2 separate regions of the Homo sapiens genome follow, and region 2 is linked to region 1. The links are contacts of gene promoters, found by promoter capture Hi-C in blood cells and fetal thymus (Javierre and others, 2016). All regions are on one chromosome and are shown on one strand. The core of a region is centred on a gene start or on the middle of the fragment in contact, and the rest is flanking DNA. Distances in the headings are between cores, read along the strand shown. Region 1 has its middle 5.9 kb from the start of ANGEL1. Region 2 holds the start of TMED8 (transmembrane p24 trafficking protein family member 8).

Region 1 (5,831 bases), core at 1,859-4,358:
AGCCTCATGTAAAAAGTAAAAATAAATCAATTGATAAAGCAAGTGAAATTAATTAATAATATTTTATTTTACCCCATAGATCCAAAAATTTTGTATTTTAACTTGTAATCAATAGTTCAAGATGAGATATTTTATGTTCTTTTTTTGTACTAAGTCTTCAAAATCCAGTGTGTATTTTACTTGGACATCACATCTGAATTTGGACTAGCCGTATTTCAGGTTCTGAATACTGCAAGGAGCTAATAGCTACCGTACTGAACATGGGCTGTTCTGGAGAGTGCAAACAGCTTCTCAGATAGGATAGGCTGAAAAGATTTGCTCATCTTCAACTCTTACGATAACCTGAGGCCTCTACACTCCTAGTAATCTGCCTTCTCTGAGCCTGGTGTTTTCTTTGGGAATCTCAAGATTTATGACTAGGCATTCCCAGAATGTGCCAGATTAGTCTGAATTAATGCATTCATTTGCTCACTTATTCACTGATTCATGCATCCATGTGTTCATTAGAGATTTATCAGGCAGTCATCAATGTTTACCCCAACCTCACCCTTGACTTTCCTTGACCTCCTGCCCACTCCTCGATTCCTTGAAACTTCAGCCCTGGACTCACAGTCTTCTTCCCTACCTCTAGTCCTCCTGTCACCAGTGTGGATGAGCCATCCTAACCCCTGGAAGCTCATTGCCATGACCTCCTTAATGACCTTCATTTCCATGTGCTTCAGACACACCCTTCCCTGGCTGCACCTTGGATATGTCATTACTGGGCACTGTTTCCCGTCTGAAATCATAAATTCACACACCCACTCTGATGGCATGGCTTTCTCATGGCTTTCTGCCTCTCCCACTTCTACTTCATCTTTTCTTTTAACTCCATCAGACCCTTGATTTCTCTAGTCTGTCCTTCTCAAGCTTTCCCTCAGTCATCATTTCTTTCCCTATCCAACATGGAATTCCCATGACCCCTCTTTTAAATCACTCTTCCCAATATCATCAACTCTCCTGCCCACTGTTCTTAGATTATATCTGCGTGGGTCAGTAAAACTATTCTTCTTGGCTCTTACATCTGGGCTGCTGAGCAACAATGAATAAAATTACCAACCCCAAAGATTGAGGCCATTAGTGTGCTAGTCTCCAACCTCTCTTCTGCTCGCAACCCTCCCCAGCAATTCTATGCTCTTTAATTAGCTTTCTCTCCCATTCTCACAATGATTATTCTTCTCAAACTTTCTGCCCTATTGCCTCCCTTCTTGCTCTTAGGAGATTATCTCCCCATCAACTTTAGAGAAAAAAATAGAGCCACCAAGTGTAAATTCTCTACTCCCTGTTGCCACAACAATGCATTGACCAGCATCTCTAACCACCTTTTCCTCTTCTCCCAACACAGCAGTTGGCACTTCCACCATGCTCCGGACCCCCTCCCCCTTCCTCTGAGATGATGTTCCTTCTACTACCCCTCTCCTTTCCTTCACTGACCCCTTGTCATCAACATTTAAGCATGCTCAAGTCACTCCTGTCAAGAAGCCCTCCTTCAGTGCCAGGTCCCCTCCAGCTAGCCCCTGCGTTCCCACCTCTCACAGCCAATCTTCTTGCAAGAGTTGTCTGCAGCTGCTGTCTACAATTCCTCACTCTTATTCATGCTCATTCCACTGAGATATAGCTTCCACCACCATTACACCACCAAAACTCCCTCCTCACTGTTCCTGATGCTTTCCTTGTTGAGGATAGTAGGGTCCTGCAGAAAGAACACGCCCTAGGCATTATTATTTCTTGAATATTCTGTAATTTTGCATAACTTCCCCCTTCTTGTAAGATTCTCTTCCCTCGGTTTCTGTGACATTCTTGTTTTCCGCTTGTCTTGGTGGATGTCCTATCCTTGTATCCTTCACTTCTGTTCCTCTCACCACCACCCTTTTCCTGATGATGTTCCTAGGATTTCTCCTTTGGCCTCTCCCCTCCTCTTACTCCACTGTCCCTTCTTGAGAAAGTCTCACCACTCCAATGGCTTCAAATACCATCCATATGCTGACAACTCACACATCTACATTTTTAACCCAAATCCTTTTCCTGGGTCACAGACCCATAAATCTTTTTGCCTGTGGACCTCTCCCAGTGGGCACTCCAGCGACAACTCAAAGACTCAACCCAGTCAAAGCTGTACTCATCACCTCCCCGCCACCATCCTCCAAAAGACCCCTGCCCCAGCTCCTTTGTTCTCTCCTTTAGGAGTTGCACAGCCATGTACTGAGCTATCCTGGCCCCCGCTTTTTTCTTCTCTGCTTTCTCTTATATATCTGATTGATTCCCAGATCCATGTGGTTTGGCCTTCTTTGTATTTATTCAATGGGTCCACTTCCTCCAGCCACTCCTGACTAGTGTTGATTCTCCCCTACCTCGATCCATTTTCCACACTGTAGCCAGAGCAATCTTTCCACTGTGTGAATCGTATCAGGTCACTGCTGCCTAAGACCTTTTAGTGCAAACTCCCACTGTCCTCAAAATGTCAGCCAAGCTCCTTGGATTAACTGTACAGTCAATGCACCTCCCACCCCTAACTGCTTTCAGACCCACCTCTCAGTACCATGATGGCTTACCTCACAAACCAGTAGTTCAAAAGCACAACAGTTTAATCAGAGGGTACAGCACATGCTGGTTATGTGGTTTCTGAAATACTAGCCCCACAACAAAATTGAAAAGGTACAAATTCAGCTGATTTTCAACAATGGTCAAAAGACAATTAAATGGCAAAAGAATAGTCTTTTCAATAAATGGCGATGGAACAATTGAACGTCCACAAGTGAAACAAATGAATCTCAACCTATAACTTCACACCTTATACAAAAACTAGCTCAAAATGGGTCACGGGAAAAGTTCTGGAAATAGATAGGGGTGATGGTTGCACAACATTGTGCATATACTTAAACTCACTGAATTGTACACTTTAAAATGTTAAATTTAATGGTTAAAATGGCAAATTTTATCATGCATGTTTCACCACAATAAAAAAATTAAATGGATCATAAACCTAAATGCAAAAGCCAAAACTATAAAAATTCTAGAGCAAAACAGGAGAAAATCCGCATGACCTTGGGGTAGGCAAATAATTTTTAGATATGACACCAAAAATGTGATCCATAATAGGAAAAAAAAGATAATATTTGTATAATTTTGACAAAATTTGGCTTTATTAAAATTAAAACTTTTACTCTGTGAAAGACATTGTTAAGCGAATGAGAAGACAAGCCACAGACTGAGAGAAAATATTTGCAAATCCCATTTCTGACAAAAGACTTATTTCCAGAATATATCAAGAATTTGCCAAACTCAGCAATAAAAAAATAAACAACCCAACTTAAAACGAGTAAAAGGGCCAGGCGCGGTGGCTCACACCTGTAATCCCAGCACTTTAGGAGGCTGAGGCGGGCAGACCACCTGAGGTCGGGAGTTCGAGACCAGCCTGACCAACATGGAGAAACCCCATCTCTACTAAAAATACAAAATTAGCCAGGCGTGGTGGTGCATGCCTGTAATCCCAGCTACTCGGGAGGCTGAGGCAGGAGAATTGCTTGAACCCAGGAGGTGGAGGTTGTGGTGAGCCAAGATCGCACCATTGCACTGTAGCCTGAGCAACAAGAGCGAAATTCCATCTCAAAAAAAATAGTAAATAAAATGAAATGAGCAAAAGATCTGAACCAAGAACAAAGGAAATATATAAATGGCAAGTAAGCATGCGAAAGGATGCTCAACATCATTAATCATTGGGGAAATGCAAATTAAAACCATCATGAAATACCACTACACACTTACTAGAATGGAAGAACAAAACCAAAAACTGGAAATGGTAAATATTGGCAAGGATGTGGAGCAACTGATGCTGTCATACATTCCTGGTGGGAATTCAAAATGGGCATACACGTTTGGGCATAGTGGTTCACTCCTGTAATCCCAGCACTTTGGGAGGCTGAAGCGGGTGGATCACCTGAGGTCAGGAATTCAAGACCAGCCTGGCCAACATGGTGAAACCCTGTCTCTACTAAAAATACAAAAATTTGCCAGGCATGGTGGCACACACCTGTAATCCCAGCTACTCAGGAGGCTGAGGCAGGAGAATCGCCTGAATCTGGGAGGCGGAGGTTGCAGTGAACCAAGATTGCACTACCGCACTCTAGCCTAGGCGACAGAGCAAGACTCTGTCTCAAAAAAAAAAAAAAGAAAAGAAAAAAAGAAAAGGAAAGAAATGAGTCCACAGCAATCCCACTCCTAAGTATTTACTCAAGAGAGAAGAAAGCTCATGTTCACACAAAAACCTGCACATGAATGTTGATAGCCATTTTATTCATAATCACCAAAAAAGTGGAAAATATGAAGATGTCTTTCAGCAGGTGAATGCATAAGCAAAGTGTGGTACATCTCTGTAACAGACTATTACTCTGCCATAAAAAGGAACTCTGCAGCAACATGGATGACTCTTAAATGCATTTTGTTAAATGAAAGAAACTAGTTCAAAAAACTACACATTGTATGGCCTCATTAATATAATTTAGGAAAGGCAAAACTATTAGGATAGAAAAGAGAAGACTGGTTTCCAGCAGACAGGGAGGGACGAGGGGTAAAGGAGGCAGCATGAGAGGCTGTTGAGGGTGATGGAACTCTTTTGAATTGGACTGTGGTGGTGGATATGTGACTTCATGGATTTGTCAAAACATGTAGAACTGTACACCACAAAGAATGAATTCTGCCATATGTCAGCCACAATAAAATCAACCAGGATATTGGGGAAAGATGAAATGCAGACTCTGACAAATGAATCTAACTGTATTACAAGTGAATTAAATAACCCACTGAAGCGGGTGGGAAGAAAGAGTTGACCTAAATAACTGGGGAAAAAAGTATTTTGACTGGCTACCACAAGGATAAACAACCACAACTTATATACTGACACCATGCTCTAGTTAGTAAATTTGTTTCTAGGACTATGGCTTAGCAATTCCGAAACTAATTATGTATATATATTAGAGATGAACAAATAAGCAGATATATGGTAGAAAACAAGAGCCAGGTTTCTGGCCAGGAGAAAGAAATGACAAATATGAAAAAGGAGAAGGCATGAATGAGTCATGTAGTGCTAGGCTGGGGATCGAGGCATCATTATAGATGGTTTTTGTTCAATGTACATATATAGATAGACTGGTATGGAAATAAATATATATGTGTGTTATGGGTGGATTAGTTTACATGCACACACACACATTTCCTAGCTCTGTTCACCAAAAAGTCTAGAAGTAGTGATACCCACATGGTGATGAATGCACAAGCTTCCAGATCTAGGTTTCCAAATATAATTCTCCTTGGAGAGATAACTTCTTCCTTTTTTTTTTTTTTTTTTTTTTTTGATAAAGTCTCACTGTCACCCAGGCTAGAGTGCCATGGAGAGATCTCTGCTCATTGCAACCTCCGCCTCCCGGGTTCAACTGATTCTTGTGCTTCAGCGTCTTGAGTAGCTGGGACTACAGGCACGTGCCACCACACCTAGCTAAGATAGGGTTTTGCCATGTTGGCCAGGCTGGTCTCGAACTCCTGACTTCAGGTGATCCTCCTGCCTCAGCCTTCCAAAGTTCTGGGATTACAGGCATGCGCCACCACGCCTGCCCAGAAAAGTAATTTCTGTGACTCCAGAGAGTGAGGGAGGGCTCAAAAAAAGGGGAAGGAGGATGTCAAAAGGGCACAGGACAGCCGCCCCGTCCGGGAGGGAGGTGGGGGTGGTCAGCCCCCCGCCCGGCCAGCCGCCCCATCCGGGAGGGAGGTGGGGGGGTCAGCCCCCCGCCCGGCCAGCC
Region 2 (5,831 bases), core at 972-3,471, 560 kb after region 1:
AGGACAGAGACCATAACCTGTCTGCGAGTACCAATACTTGATTCATGGCCAATAAAAACAAACAATTATAGACTTCATCATAACAAGATGACAATTTCATCCAGACAGTAAAAACTTGCGCTAACTTGAACAGGTAAGTTAACCTTTCTCAGCTGTAGTTTGTTCCTCTGTAAAATGGGAAGAAAATGATTGTTGACATGACTAAATCAGAAAATATAAATTTTTTTCCACCTCTGGCACAGAATAAGCATTCAATATCTGTAGGTTATCATTACTATTATTTTATTAGCAACAAATCCTACCTCAAGAGGAAGAGCTTGCTCTGGGCTACTATAATAAACCCCTACATGACATTAAAAAAAAAAATTATCACCCTGCATTCTGAGGGTAAGAGGAAGGAAAGTAAGCATCTCTACCAATGTCCTGGGAGGAAGTGAATGCAGGAATGAATTAGATGTCAGGGGGAAAAAAAAACACACTCATCTATCTAAAACGCGTGGGTACGTTTGCCATAAACACATGAGAACCTAAAGGGGAAGTAAAAACATGCTTAATTTGTAAATACTGGCGCATGCAAGGGACAAGTGTTATAAGACTTACCTTTCTGTGTTTACTTGCTTAGTCTTTTAGACATTATGCTTAGAATTTCTACTGCTATGTTAAATATATGCCAACGATTTTTAATTTAATACAAAGCAGAGTTCGTAAGAAAAAAAGGCAAAATTTGTCAGGTGTTTTAAAGTAAAAGAATATAAAATCATGGGAAAGAGCTGGGTGAGTTGTGTGTGTGTTTGAATAAGGCAGCATTATGAGAGGGAAGATACTTGGGATCAGAGTAGAAGACAGAAAAAGGCACCATGTTGGAAGCCATACATCCAAGAACACCTCTGGCGGCACAGGAAGTTCAACTGAACAAAAAGAGACCTTACTGTCACAATGGTTGAGACGAGTATAGTGTGTACCATGGACTATACCCCAAATGCCTTAGACAAAGCAGCTCAAGTAATCCTCACAATAATCCTATGAGGCAGATATTTTTAGTAATCACATTTTACAGATGAGGAAACTGACGTTTCAGACTCCAATCCAGGCACCCTGGCTCCACAGTAGTGCCTCAACCATTATACTTTATGGTGTCTATTTTAATTTCAGACCTAGAAAATTAATTTATATTTGCTACTTAAATAAGACAAGTTCTCTCCCCTCTACCCTTTCGTATTTCAAAAGAGCATCCTTTCAGTTGCATCGTGTGTGGTGTTCAGGAGGCTGAAAGAAGAAAGTGTGATGGATGGACTCTTTTGTCTTTGGACACTGAAATAATACACACGGAGGAACTCGCGTTAGTAGAAATGGAGACGTCGTCCTGGACAAGAAGAGGATGAGGGTCTTGAGAATGAGGGAGGTAGGCCAAATTTTTAATTCCTGCTCTTGCTTTGGCTACTGTGTTCAAGCAAAAGACCCCAGACACTACCTATTTCAACTCTGCTTTTCATTTTTCCCACTCTAAGCGATGGAGAGGATGGCAGCAAGGCCAGGGGGCCTATGTGCAGGAAGGCTAGGGCGCAGTGGGCTTCTGGCAGAGGAAGGCAAGGCTGCCAACCCGGGTGGGGGCCGAGAGGCGCGTGGTAAGGCTGGGGCAGGGGACTGAGATGGGGATAGGGTGGGGAGCCAGAAGCAGGGGGCGGCGAGGCCAGTAGGGTTCGGGTCGGCAGTCTAGATGTGATTAGCAGACGGAGGTGGGACCCGAACCCCGGCTGAAGCTGAAACTGAAGCTGAAGAGGCGCCAGGGGCAGAGCCACCCTGTCACTACCATTTGGGCAGATCTCAGAAAGGAAGCGGGGCAGGAATCAAGGCATTTCGAAACAGGAGTGAGTAGAAAATAACCTCGAGCCCAGGGCCCGGGTGGTGGCAGCGGCGGGGAAGGGGCCCCGCGCGCGAAGGGGCTGCCGAGGTGGGTCCGCTCCGCGGGGAAGCCCAGGACAGAGCGCGGCGGAGGCTCGCGCCGTGGTGCGGGGCCCTGAGGCCGGGCGGCACCCACCCGCCAGCGCCCCGGCCTTGCGTACCTGAGGCGGCCGCCTGGCTCCCCTCCACTCCCTGGCAGTCCCCGACGCCGCCAGCCGACCCTGGGCGGGCTGTGGGGCTCCAGGAGCCCGGCCCCTCAGCCGCCTGCAGGTCAGACATCTGCAGCCCGCGCACGGAGCTCTCCGCTGCCAGCCGCGAGTGGCTCCGGAAACAGCCGAAGGCCGAGCGAGCGCCGAGCACAGCCGAGCGCAGCCTGCAGGCCGGAAGAAGCGGCGCGGCGGCCGCTTGAAAAGCTAGCTGACCCAGGGGCGGCCACAGGAGCTCTGGCCCGCTGAGGCTGGCGATGAGGCCGCAGGGAGGGTTACTGCGTGCTTGTGACAGACGATTTTTAAAGTCAGGGCTTGAAAGAACAAACAAAACCTGGGGAAGAGTCAGGAAGACACTGCCGGAAATCGTGGTATCCATAGAGACGCTATCGGAAGTTGGGGTTGCTAGGAAGCCGCGGCGCGTCTGCTAAGCTGCAAATGGCTGAAGTCCCGGAGGATTATGATTCCGGCCCAGATGAAGATGGAGAGCTGGAGCCTGAGAGGCCTGAACTGCCTGGACTTCATAAATTGTATGAAAATGCCGAACCAGACACCATGGCAAAGGCAGACTCGAAGCTACCAGCAGAGATTTACCAAGAGCCACAGCCAGAGACCGAGGAAGAGGACTTCAAAGAGGGGGAGCCAGACAGTGCTAAGAACGTGCAGCTGAAACCTGGCGGGACGTCCCAGGAAGGAATTGCCAAGGAGTCCAAGAGAGACGTACCAAGCGAAACTGAACCAGGGATACACCAAGAGGTAAAGTCGGAAACATCCAGAGAGATGGGAGAGTTTTTCAAAGATTTGGAGGCCCCTATGGATGAAACGCATAAAGAGTCAGACCTAGAGCCACCAGAGGAGGCTAAACCAAATGTTACAGAGGATGTGTTCCTAGAGTCAGCTATGGAAACAGATCCAGATCCAGTGCCACCAACGGAAACCATGTCTGAGGTTTCGGGGGCCACAGTCAGAGAGAGAAATTTAGAATTACTAGAGGAGGAGACTGAACCGGGGGTTCCAGAGGAATCACTTAGAGTGCAACATGAAGAGACAGGTCTAGAGCCTCCAGAGCAGACCAAACAAGATTTTCCAAGTGAGAAACTAGGAGAATCACTTGAAGAGACAGATCTTCAGCCACCAAAGATGACCAAACCAGAGACTCCAGAGGAGACACAAAGAGAGTCAACTGAGAAGAAAAGGACAGAGCCACCCGAGCAGGCTAGACTGGAATTTCTGGAGAAGGAACCAAGAAAGTCTAGTGAGGAGGCAGGTCTAGAGCCTCCAGAAGAGACTCAACCAGAGGTTCCAGAGGAGATGCAAAGAAAGGCAACTGAGGAGAAAGGGACAGAACTACCTGAGCGGACTAAACCAGACTTTCCAGACCACAAGCCAAGAAAGTCTACTGATGAGAACGTTCCTGAGCCACTAGAAGAGATCAAATTAGAGTTTCCTGAGGAAGAATCAAGAAAAACAAATGAGGAAACAATTCTAGAACAATCAGAAATGATGAAACCAGAAAGTCCAGAAGAGATAAGAAAGTCAAATGAGAAAAAAAATCCACAGCCACCAGAGGAGACTGGTCCAGTGCTACCACAGGAGATCAACCCACAAGTTGAAGAGAAAACACAAACAAAGCCAACTGAGAAAATTCTAGAGTTACCAGATGAAACCAAACCAAGGGAGACACATGTAGAATTTTCCAAGGAAGACAGGCCAGAACCAATAAAGTCTAAGTATTCTGTAGGAAACGATGAGCTAGAGCACCGTGAGCCTAAAAGAGGAAAGTTGTCACTAAGTGACAAATTTAGAAAAGAATATTACGCATTAGGATCTCTCAGAGAAAGTGAAGAATCAATTGGTACACATTATGAGTTTTTGCAACCACTCCAAAAATTGCTTAATGTCAGTGAAGAATGCTCATACTCAGATCCCTCAGAGTCTCAGACAGAATTAAGTGAGTTCGTTCATGAAAAGGAAGTTGTAGATTTGTCCCAAGAGTTGAAGGAACGGGTCTCTGAAGATGACGAAACCCAGCCAGAAAAAGGGACTGAGTTACAATTTGAGCATCTTAATTGGGATCCAGAGGAAGTTGCAGAGTGGATTAGCCAGCTAGGCTTCCCTCAATACAAGGTATACAAAAATAAGATGTTTTGAAATCACATGCTGTCATCCGTCTACTTCTTATTCCTTCTAACTTGGCCTGAGCTCTTACCTCTTTACCGGAAGGAGTATCAAAAAGTCCTAGACTGTGGTAGAGGTAACTTGGATTTTAATTTTGGCCTTGCCACTGATGTATATTTGTATTTTGGGAGAGGAAGGGAGGGTCACATCGGTTTGTTTTTCCTCTTCCAGTGATTACACTTCTCTGCAATCCTTGAATAAAAGACCAAGAAGAGTATATAGACCTCCTTTCTTTTTTTTTTTTTGAGACACAATCTCGCTCTTGCCAAGGTTGGAGTGCAGTGGCACGATCTCGGCTCACTGCAAGCTCCACCTTCCCCAGGTTCACGCCATTCTCCTGCCTCAACCTCCTGAGTAGCTGGGACTGGGACTACAGGCGCCCGCCACCATGCGCGGCTAATTTTTTGTATTTTTAGTAGAGACGGGGTTTCACTGTGTTAGCCAGGATGGTCTCCATCTCCTGACCTCGTGATCCGCCAGCCTCAGCCTCCCAAAGTGCTGGGATTACAGGCGTGAGCCACCGTGCCCGGCCTTAGACCTCCTTTCATAGAAAACTGTATTTTTAAGTAGACTTTGTTCAAGGTAGGCTTTTTGGTACTTTGTCAAGTTATTTTAGTGGCAGCTCCCTTGCTTTGAACTTGTGCTATTACTTTTTAAAGTGTCTGCCCCAAATATGTCACCTGTATCATGAGCACTTAAGTGTATTAATTCAAGTTAGCCAGTTAACCAAAACTAGTTTTAGTAAAAAGTCAGTGTAAACCTCTTGTTTCACTGATGCCAACTAGGTTTAAGGCTACCACAAAACAATACAAGATCTGAAACCTTTTGTACCTACTATACTTACAAATGTAATTGAGACATGAAGAAGCACTGGTTGTACCATGCCCAAAAAAACAGTTAAAGAGCAGTGTAAAATTTAATAAAGAGCTTACATGGAAAAATTGTGCCGTTATTGGGATAGAAAGTAAATTTAAGCTACTCAGGAGGCTGGGGCAGGAGGACTGCTTGAGTCCAGGAGTTCGAGGCTGCAGTGATCTATGACTGCAGCACTGCACTCCCGCCTGGATGACAGAGTGAGACCCTGTCTCTAAAAAAGAAAAAACAAAATAATATTTTTTTCTCAGGGTAGAACAAACACGACTTCTTCCCTTCCTCCCCCTTCCCTCCCTTTCTTCCTTCTATTTGCAGTACATTTTTTAAGTGATGTCCTTGTTGTATTGACAGGAGTGTTTTATCACAAACTTCATCAGTGGCCGAAAACTCATTCACGTCAACTGCTCAAACCTCCCTCAGATGGGGATAACAAACTTTGAGGACATGAAGGTGAGTTGTGTCCAAAGTTTCCCTACAGAGCACTGTTAACAGTGCCACCATCTGTCTCAAACCAACCTTTTTTTCCTCCAGCCTGGCCTCCCACTTCTGTCAATGGTGTCATCATAATTCCAGTTCCTCAGGCTCACGGTGGTTGCCTCCTCTTTCTCCTTTGATCCCCATAAATATTCCAAGAACTGTCCATTGCTCCTGTGGCACTTACACCGTCTGGCT

What was found. The method cuts DNA at HindIII sites, captures the fragments that hold promoters and counts their contacts. A CHiCAGO score of 5 or more calls a contact.
Region 2: a contact is called between the fragment with the promoter of TMED8 here and a fragment that was not itself captured in region 1, in 1 of 17 cell types (neutrophils). The highest score is 5.9, in neutrophils.

The regions. Positions count from the first base shown.
Region 1 is chr14:76,815,846-76,821,676 of GRCh38, forward strand. No RefSeq gene overlaps it. Among named protein-coding and RNA genes, the nearest start is that of ANGEL1, 5.9 kb to the left of the region's middle. The HindIII fragment of the contact is 4,403 bases long and covers 908-5,310 here.
Region 2 is chr14:77,374,873-77,380,703 of GRCh38, forward strand. It overlaps TMED8 (transmembrane p24 trafficking protein family member 8), which reads right to left and starts at 2,222. Exons shown (of 6, transcript NM_213601.3): 1 at 2,064-2,222. The coding sequence starts at 2,181. It overlaps SAMD15 (sterile alpha motif domain containing 15), which reads left to right and starts at 2,507. Exons shown (of 3, transcript NM_001010860.4): 1 at 2,507-4,235; 2 at 5,511-5,609. The coding sequence starts at 2,547. RefSeq lists silencers at 1,800-2,229, 5,623-5,803 and an enhancer at 2,280-2,489. The HindIII fragment of the contact is 9,682 bases long and covers 1-5,831 here.